2 separate regions of the Homo sapiens genome follow, and region 2 is linked to region 1. Evidence: promoter capture Hi-C in 16 types of primary human blood cells and fetal thymus (Javierre and others, 2016). All regions are on one chromosome and are shown on one strand. The core of a region is centred on a gene start or on the middle of the fragment in contact, and the rest is flanking DNA. Distances in the headings are between cores, read along the strand shown.

What was found. The method cuts DNA at HindIII sites, captures the fragments that hold promoters and counts their contacts. A CHiCAGO score of 5 or more calls a contact.
Region 2: the fragment with the promoter of YWHAB here is called in contact with a fragment that was not itself captured in region 1 in 2 of 17 cell types (M2 macrophages and M0 macrophages); the score reaches 6.5 in M2 macrophages.

The regions. Positions count from the first base shown.
Region 1 is chr20:44,679,871-44,684,774 of GRCh38, reverse strand. No RefSeq gene overlaps it. Among named protein-coding and RNA genes, the nearest start is that of LINC01260, 11 kb to the right of the region's middle. RefSeq lists a silencer at 1,129-1,188. The HindIII fragment of the contact is 1,410 bases long and covers 1,461-2,870 here.
Region 2 is chr20:44,882,051-44,886,954 of GRCh38, reverse strand. YWHAB (tyrosine 3-monooxygenase/tryptophan 5-monooxygenase activation protein beta) reads right to left here and starts at 1,250. Exons shown (of 6, transcript NM_139323.4): 1 at 1,069-1,250. RefSeq lists silencers at 957-1,506, 1,567-1,626 and an enhancer at 904-1,520. The HindIII fragment of the contact is 6,156 bases long and covers 1-4,904 here.

The DNA of each region.
Region 1 (4,904 bases), core at 916-3,415:
ACACATACACAAAGCCACACATGCAAAGCATTTGGATATCTTCTTCCAGGGAGCTTATAGACACCCCAGCAGAGGCTTCTGTGATCACACTGGCTGAGCACCAGCTCTCTGTGTGGTGCTGGATGAGGGGAGTTTTATCTGAGCCACTCTGGCCCCCCGCTGTAGGGCCCTGTCCTCTTATTTGACATTCAACTCTTGCCTAATTGACAATTACACTCATATCCTTCCTCTGCTCTGCAACCTTCCATGGCTCCCCAGTGCCTACCACCTAAGGCCAGATTCCTCACCCTGGCATTCAAGGCCACTCATGGCCTTGGATGGTCTGTGTGTGGAGGGGCCCACTAGGCTACATGAGGAACGCTCTCTCAAATCCTGCCCTTCCTTCAAGATTGAACTAAATGCCACTTCCTTCCTTCCTTCATTTCTCTACCCATTCATTCAACATGATTTATTAAACACAAAATGGATTTATTAGCACATATTTATTACCTACTATGTGAAGACATTATTCTAGGCAGTGGAGAGAGATAGTGGTCTCAGCCAATTGCAACTGAAATGTGTTAGTTTTGCAAATGTGAAACATATGCCCATGCGAATGCGTTGGAAAGTTCCTCCATGGCCCTGGGAGAGGACATGCAAGTCAGGAGCCCTGATGCGTCACCAGCCTCACAGTAAATTCACCTCTGTGCCCAAGAATGCAGGGCTGTCTCCTGGTCCAGGATCATGGTCTCTTCCTCCTCTGATCTCCAAGGACTTGCACTCTCGGCTCTGCCACTGACCAGCTTTGTGACTTTGGGAAGTCATTTTTCTAAGTCTCAGATTATGTATGTAAATGGGTATATAGGAAGTGATTCCTACCTTGAGAGAGGAATTAAATGTTAATTAAATTGCTTAAAGGGGTTAGGTTACATTAGATTAGGTGTAAAAACGTCTGCACGTGGTAAGTGCTCATTGAGCGGCAGCCATTATTATTACTATTAGCCGCAGCTGACTTGGGCAACACCTGCTACCTGCTTCCAGATGGATCCAGAGGTTTGCTTTCTTTGCCCACTGGAGGGCAGCAGAAAGCAGAAACCTGCCTTCCAGAGCTTTGCACCCCGGCTAACACCTAACACTGGCCTCTCAAGAGGCAGGAGGAAGGGTAAGGGGTTTCTGGGCTCAAAAGTGAGGCTGGCCAGTGAATTTTCTGTGTCTCTAGGACTGGATGCTAGTGGCTGGGGTAGGTTCCCTAAACAGCTCCAATCAATGCAAAGGCAGCCAAGTCATCCAGCCCACAGCCCCAGTGTCCGTCCCTGGATGCATCCCACAGTCCTGGACAGGATGGGCAGGAGTTCTGGCCTCTGGAGCTGCTCTTCGCATTTCTGTCTGTGTGACCTTGGGCAAGTGCCTTGACCTCTCTGTGCCTCCATTTCTTTTTCCGTAAAATGGAAATATTGCTGTTTCCCCCAAAAGGAAAAGCTTCCATATATGCAGAGGGATGGCCATGCTTGCGTTGCTTTGCATCAGGTAAATCTGTTACATTGTAATTAGCTTTTTTCTTCTGATCACAAATGCAATGCATTAATTGGTTTGAATATTTTGAGTGCCCTACAGCAGGTCAACCCCTGCATGAGCTGATGAAATTGGCAAAAATGAAGCTAGTCATTGTGTTGGGGTGGTGGGATTCTGGATGACAGAGTTCCCCCCTCAGCAACCGCCACCCCATTCTCCCAACTTTCTATGTTATTGCATCGCCTTTACAATGGTAGAAAAGAGAGACCAGGAGGAACGTAACTGAGCACTTACTATGTGTGAGATGTTTCCATTTATCCTTTCCCTAATTCTGCAGGCTCTACACGGCAAGCCCATGTCTGTGTTGCTTGCTGCTGTTTTCCCAGTGCCCAGCACCGTACCTGGCATGTCGTTGGTCCTCAAAACATACTTGTTTAGCAGTCAAAGAAATGATTTGTGCAAAGTTTACAAATGAGGAAATTGAGGTTCAAAGAGGTTATGTGACTTGTTCAATATCACCTAGCTAGTGGGACGCAGGACCAGGATCATTGGACTTCAGGTCCTGAGGAAGGTCTTTCTACTCATGCCTGTCCCTCTGCCTCCTCACATTCCGACACCCTCTTTGTAAAGCTGTCTTATTTTACAGGCATCTGATCAGGCGGCCTGCAAGAAGAGTGCGCCCCCTTAGCCAGTATGGCCACGCTTCCTCCCTTAGGGGCTGCTGGGTGTGCCCCTCATCTTCTCAACCCCCTGGGGACCCCTGGAGGATCTGGAGCACACCCTCCAGCTGGGGGATTTGCCCAGCAGGTGAGGCCCCTTAGTCGCTGTAGCCCATTTGGAAGTTTGGCAGGTGGATTTCTAGTGCAAGGCCACCTCTGCCCTCTGAGCTCAGAGCCACCTATTTCTGCCCCACCCAGTCCTGCACACAGCTGGTAGCAGGTGCAGGGAGGAGGCAAAAGCCAGACTTTGCCCCTTTATCTTGCACCCCTTTTCCCATTCTCAGGCAGATGTGTGTCCAAAAGTGTTTGACCTGTGCTGTGTGCATATGGGAATATGCACATATATACATGCGTGTCCCCATGCACATACCTGTGGACATGGGCAGCCCTGTGTGTGAGCACACATGTGTGTCTGAGTGTGGCTTGTGCGATCCTCCATGTGCCCATGGGTGCAGACGTGAATCCGAGTGTGAACGTGAGCTTATATGTAGCTCTGCATGTGTGTGGGTAATGCTGAAGGATAGACCACCAAGCAGAAGGGCATCTCCTTGCCCCGCCTCAGTTTCCTCATCTGTAAAATGGGGACAACAATGGCACCTAACAGGTGGAACCGGCAAGGCACACAGTAAGTGTCATGATAGTAGCCCTTTTTATTAAGCTTCTCGGGGATGTGTGCGGATTCCACAAAATAAGAACGCAGAAAGGGACTGGCTCAAGAAATGTTTCTCCCATCATTCTTTCATCCTTAGGTCCAGAAGTATTTCTTCTGTTCTCTTGGTTTTATCACTGCAAAGGTAATATAACAACAGTGGAGGAAGTTTGAGAAGAAAACATGGGGAAGGGGAGATACCTGTCCCCCAAAACCCCACCACTCCCGACACAAGAAGGAATTTCATTTTTGCTTGTTCTTTTCCTGACTTTGTCCATGAGCCAGCATGGAGCTTGGCACACAGCGCCGAGCTCGAAAAAAATATTTGGATGTTTTAACAAATATATATTAGCTAAAATGACTACACTGAGTATTTTTCCATCCTGCATTTGTTCACACATCAGGGACATTTTCCATATGATAGCTGGTCTTTATAGTTATTATAATTATTATTATTATTTTGAGATGGAGTCTGACTCTCTCGCCTGGGCCGGAGTGCAGTGGCTCAATCTCGGCTCACTGCAACCTCCGCCTCCCAGGTTTAAGCGATTGTCCTGCCTAAGCCTTCTGAGTAGCTGGGATTACAGGCATGCACCACCATGACAGGGTAATTTTTGTATTTTTAATAGAGATGAGTTTTCACCATGTTGGCCAGGCTGGTCTTGAACTCCTGACCTCCAGTGATCTGCCCACCTTGGCTTCCCAAAGTGCTGAGATTACAGGCATGAGCCACCACGCCCAGCCCAGTATTTATAATTATTAAAGATAATAGGCCAGGCGCGGTGGCTCACGCCTGTAATCCCAGCACTTTGGGAGGCCGAGGTGGGCAGATCATGAGGTCAGGAGATGGAGGCCATCCTGGCCACATTTCACAATGTGGCCTAGTGTTTCCACATTGTGAAACCCCATCTCTACTAAAAATACAAAAATTAGCCGGGAGTGGTGGTATGTTCCTGTAGTCCCAGCTACTTGGGAGGCTGAGGGAGGAGAATCACTTGAACCCGGGAGGCAGAGGTTGCAGTGAGCTGAGATCATGCCACTGCACTCCAGCCTGTGACAAAGTAAGACTCTGTCTCAAAAAAAAAAAAAAATTAGGAACTACCTACTGCTATAGACGAGTCACTTGTATTAAGAAATGTTATGTCGCAGTAATGAACATCTTTTTCCATCTAGAATTTTTTTTCTTTCTTTGGAACAGGTTAGTGTTTCCACACTGGGAATAGGGTGTCCCAGAATTTATAAAGGGGATTCCACTGAAAAAAACCAGAAACATTAACCGTCAAGGCCATGCAAATCAAAGCCACAATGAGATCCCACTACACACCCCCACGAGGATGGCTACAATAAAAAAGACAAACAATAATAAGTGTTGGTAAGGAATCAGAGAAATCAGAACTCTCATACATTGCTGACAGGGATGAAAAAAGTGAACAAAGCCAGTCATAAAAGACCACAGGCCTGGACGCACTGGCTCATGCCTGTAATCCCAGCACTTTGGGAGGCCAGGGTGGGAGGATCACTTGAGCCCAGGAGTTCTAGACTAGCCTGGGCAACATAGGGAGAACCCATCTCTACAAACAATTTTTTAAAAATTTGCTGGGCATGGCGGTGCACTGTGGTCCCAGCTACTTGGGAGGCTGAGCAGGGAGGGTCATGTGAGCCCTGGAGTTCGAGGCTGCAGTGAGCTGTGATTGCACTGTTGCACTCCAGCCTGGGCAAGAGAAGGAGACCCTGTCTCAAAAGAAAAAAAAAAAGACCCCATGTTGCATGACTTCTTTTCTATGAAACATCTAGAAAGAGCAAATCCATAGAGACAGAAAGTAATTGGCAGTTACCTGGGGCCAGAGGGGGGTCGGCTGCAGGACTGACTGCTGATAGGTACAGGGTTTCTGTGGGGGATAATGAAAAAGTGCCAAAATTGATTGTGACAAATATATAAAAAACTATTGAATTGTACACTTTATCTGTTGTTGTTGTTTTTGAGACAGAGTCTTGCTCTGTTGCCCAGGCTAGAGTGTAGTGGCATGACCTTGGCTCACTGCAAC
Region 2 (4,904 bases), core at 1-2,500, 200 kb before region 1:
GATTTTATGTTCATAGCATCATCTTGCCAAATTCCATCTCCCACACAGGGCAAGCAAAATCAGGACCTGATGCTATCTAGCCTTACCAAAGAGAAATGCAATGAAGGCAACGACAAGAAACATGTATTTTACAGAAAGGTTGGCAAATTGCTTACCAAGGCTGCCACCTCTGAAAACCCCATTATATGGGAGTTCTCCATTTGCGGCAAAGATGCACTCACCTTCCCACCTCTTCTTCCCTCCGCTCCCCACCCCCCGACCAGGAAGCCACCGGGCAAATTTCAGACCGAAAAACGTGCTAACACACAATATGGGGGAATTTGGGGTAAAGACACAAAAGAATCTGGCATTAAATGACGGTAAATACTGTGAGAAAATACTCCGATTCTCACCCCCTGATATTTTTTCCTGGGGATCCGGCCTGACTCAGTAACCGGCTCCAACAAACAGATTTTCTTGATTCAAACCCAATTCCCTTCCTAGGGAATCTTGGGTCCTGCCAGGCTCCATAACCAGTGAAGGATGATGAAATGGTTTTACTGCAAAATGGGAGGGGGTTCCCCCACTGCTGTCTCCCAAGGTTAAACCCCTTACTCATCCAGGAGGAGCCAAACACGGGGACTGGGGCTAGAAAACTCATCCGCGTTTGATTAAATTTTAATTTCTGGAAACCAGAAAGCACGGAGCAGAGGTGACAGGGCTGAAGGGGACGTTCTTGCCGACCAAGACGCAGGGAGGGGTCGCGTGGGGCCCGAAGCAGATAGTGAGGGAGGGTCCGGGATCCCCGGCTCCGCTGTCCCTTACGGCACAGTACGGAGTTGCACCCCGCCCGGCCGGCAGGACCTCAGGCGGCCCGAGCCTCTCCAAGAGGTAAAGGGCCCGGCCCCGGAAACAGGGAGGGGCCGCTGCGAGGTCTGGCCTCGCCGCCGGCGGCCGCGCGGAGCGAAAGAGGCAGCGCGCCGCTACCCCACGGGGCCCACCCACTGGGCCGCCGTCGTCGCAGCAGCCAGAGAGGGGCTTCGAGTTTGGGCCCCCGGGGGCCCCGGTCGGACCCCGCGCCGCACTCACCGTGGGAGGGCTGCAGGGAACAAAGACCCTTCCGAGCGAAGCTCCGAGCGAGATGACCTCTTCCTTCCTAAGCCCACTACTCAGGCGGCGGCAGCGGTGCCTGCAGTGGCTGCAGCGGCGGCGGCGGCGGCGACTACCCCGGCTCCGGAATCGGCGGCGGCGGTGGCGGTAGCTCCACTTCCGCTCCGATCGCCACTTCCGCTCCGGTCCTGGCCGCGCCCCGCCCCAAACCGTGTTCTCATTGGGCAAGCGAGGCACGGGGTTGCCACGGCCCCACGGGAGGGGCGCAGACGGAAGGGAGGAGGAAGAAGAGCGAAAGGCAGGGTTGCAGGGGCCGGGGCAGGGCGGATGGCCGGGGGAGGGACCCAGGAGGAGGTGGGCGGAGAAGAAGGAAATGGGGCGGGGGAGCGGGAAAAGGAGGTGGGAGGAGAGAGGGCGGAGCTGGGGGTGGTCAAGATACGGGCTGTGTGGGAATAAGGAGGACTAGGAGTGTGGTCTGGATGGGGATTGCCCTTTCTGCTGGGACTGGAAACGCGCCAGGGCCAGTCCCGGAGATTCGAGGTTTAGCAGTTCCCCCTCCACCCCGAAAGTAATCCTCACTGGGTCGGAGGCCGATGTCAGTCCTCTTACTGTGTGCTTTGGTAATGCTGGAGCCAGGGAAGAACAGAAATTGCTCATCCCTCAATGTTCATTTAATCCTTTCAATCCTTCAGGGTACTTACCTTTTCCTTCTTTGGTAGACTGAAGAGGCCACGTGAAGTGCCAGGAATCCAATGCACAAACGTCTTTTTAAAAAACCTGTGTAGGGTCGAGCGCAGTGGTTCGCGCCTGTAATCTCAGCACTTTGGGAAGCTGAGGTGAGAGGATTGCTTGAGGCCGGGAGTTGTAGGCTGCAGTGAGCTATGGTCATGCCACTGCACTCCAACCTGGGAGACAGAGTGAGACCCTGTCTCCAAAAAAAACCCACAAAAATCTGTGTACATGATTTCTTCTTTAAGATGCCCCCTCGTTGAGGAAGTTCAGGGAAGGAAACAGGCCTCCATGGCTCCCCTCCCCTCCATGACTGCTCTCACAATTACCAACATTCTACTCCTCTGAAGGTAGTTGATTTTGTTTTGTTTTGTTTTGTTTTGTTTTCTGTTTTTGAGACAGAGTCTCTTTCTGTCGCCCAGGCAGTGTCACAATCTTGGCTCACTGCAATCTCTGCCTCCCAGGTTCAAGCAATTCTCCTGCCTCAGCCTCCTGAGTAGCTGGGATAACAGGTGCATGCCACCACTCTCGGCTAGTTTTTGTATTTTTAGTAGACACGGGGCTTCGCCATATTGGCCGGGCTGGTCTCAAACTCCTGACCTCAGGTGATCCACCCGCCTCAGCCTCCCAAAGTGCTGGGATTACAGACATGAACCACCTCGACCGGCTTCAAGGTAGTTGATTTTTAAACTCAGTCCTTCAAAATGCCTCTCGCCTTCCCTCTCTCCTGTTCATTTATTCTTTCAACAAATGTTGAACAGGCTTTTTGCTTAGTGCTGGAGACACAGCAATGAACAAGGCAGGTGGGGCCCTGCTGTCTTGGAGTTTGCAGTCGGGTAGGAGAAAAAGCCAAGTAAATAGGCCTTTGCCGTCTTGCCTTTACCCTTACTTAGCTAAATGACAGACTTCTAATTCACCATTTGGTCTCAGCCTCGCCCGTCAACTGCCAAGTGATCTTTTAAAAATACCATTCTAATCGTGTCCTGTTCTTGCTTAAATTATTTAGTGTGCACTCAGACCTAGATGACAATATATAAGTTCCTTGAGTGTGACAATCAGGGTTCTCCAAAAGCTGCCCTTATCCTTTAGCTGCTATTTCTCCCCCATCGTAAATACCCCAATTCAATTGGATGATTCCTTACCCTCCCAATATGCCATCTCCAGTATTTCTAAGCAGTTTGACTTAGTTGCCAACACTTTTTTAAACTGAAAAGTTTCTGTGTGAACAGAAATCTGCCTCTCTGCCTTGTCTGGTAACACTGTGTCCACATTTCTGTGTGGCAACAATTGGCTGAAGCCAAGGAGTGGCTGCCTGTTCTAGACTGGGCATGGACTTTCCCAAATGCCAGGGACCCTTCTCGACCTGAGTCTGCTTTTGTCACTTATGTTATCTGTCATGTAGGCATGTGTGCCAGTGACCCCTGTACTGTGCCACCTTTTAAGTTGAACAAGATTGAGAACGTGTTGTGTAACGTAAACAGCATGGTTTTGGGTCAAAACCATTGGATTTGAATCCTGGAGAGGTTAGTGCAAAAACTTCCCCATGAGGATCGTCTTTGGCAGACCCTAGACCAGTAATCTAGAGACTACTCAGGCTAAGTAACTTTTAATGTCACAAGACTGTGCCTTATGCCGTCATCCAGAAAATAGCCTAATGGACCAGAGGGCTAATAATGATTATACCACAAATGACATCAACAGTGCATTGAGGGAACAGAAGTGCCCTTTGTCAGGCATTCCTAGGTGCCTGTTAAAGGGTTCAATGGATTAGCTTATTTCACCATCTCTGCATTCTAGGCCAAGCGTCAGCAAACCACAGCTATGAACTGACAGCGATACAGATAAATGTTAAAATACAATGTGGTAGGTGCAACCATAGAAATAAATATATGTGCAGGGTATTATGGGAGCTTGGGAGAAGAGCACCTAACCCATCTTGGGAATATGATGGGAGAGCAGGAAAGATTTCCTTAAAGAAGTGATACTAGAGCCTTATATACTGCAGTGAATCTTTTTTCAAATTATAGACTTAATTTTTAAAAATGTTTTTGTAGAGACAGAGTCTCATTATGTTGCCCAGGCTGGGCTCAAACTCCTGGCCTCAAGTGATTCTCCTGCCATGGCCTCCCAAAGTGCTGGGATTACAGGTGTGAGCCACTGTGCCTGGCCAATAGACTTAATTTTTTAGAACAGTTTTAGGTTTACAGAAAAATTGACCAGATATTACAGAGTTCCCACATTCCCTCTCCCTCCTCCACACAATTTCCCCTATTATTAACATCTTGTATTAGAGTGGTACATTTGTTGCAATTGATGAGCCAGTATTAATACATCATTATTAACTAAAGTCCGTAGTTTACATTGGGGTTCATTCTTTATGTTGTACATAGTTCTATAGGTTTTGACACATGCATAATGTCATGTATATAAATAAAAGTTTTACTGTCCTAAAAATCTTTGCTTCAACTCTTCATCCCTCACTCCCTCCCCTCACCCCAACCTTTGGCAACCGCAGACCTTTTACACTATAGTTTTACCTTTTCTAGAATGTCATATAGTTACATCATACAATATGTTGCTCGCTTTCTTTCTTTCTTTCTTTCTTTCTTTCCTTCCTTCTTTTTTTTTTTTTTTGACAGGGTGTCACTCTGTCACCCAGGCTGGAGTGCAGTAGTGCAATCACAGCTCACTGCAGCCTCGACCTCCTGGGTTCAAGTGATTCTCCCACCTCAGCCTCCCTAGTAGCTGGGACTACAGGCGTGTGCCACCACACCCAGCTAATTTTTGTATTTTTTATAGAGATGGGGTTTTGCCATGTTGCCCAGGCTGGTCTTGAACACCCAGGCTCAAGCAATCCTCTTGCCTTGGCCTCCTAAAGTGCTGGGTAATAAAGTGTGAGCCATTGTACCCAGCACATATGTCGCCTTTTCTGACTGGATTGTTTTATTAAGTAATGTGATTTAAGTTTCCTTCATGTCTTTTTATGATTTGATAACTTATTTCTTTTGATTGCTTAAAAAATCCCCTTGTATGAATCTACCATATTGTGTTTATGCATGAACTTATTCTTTTTTTTTTTCCAGAGA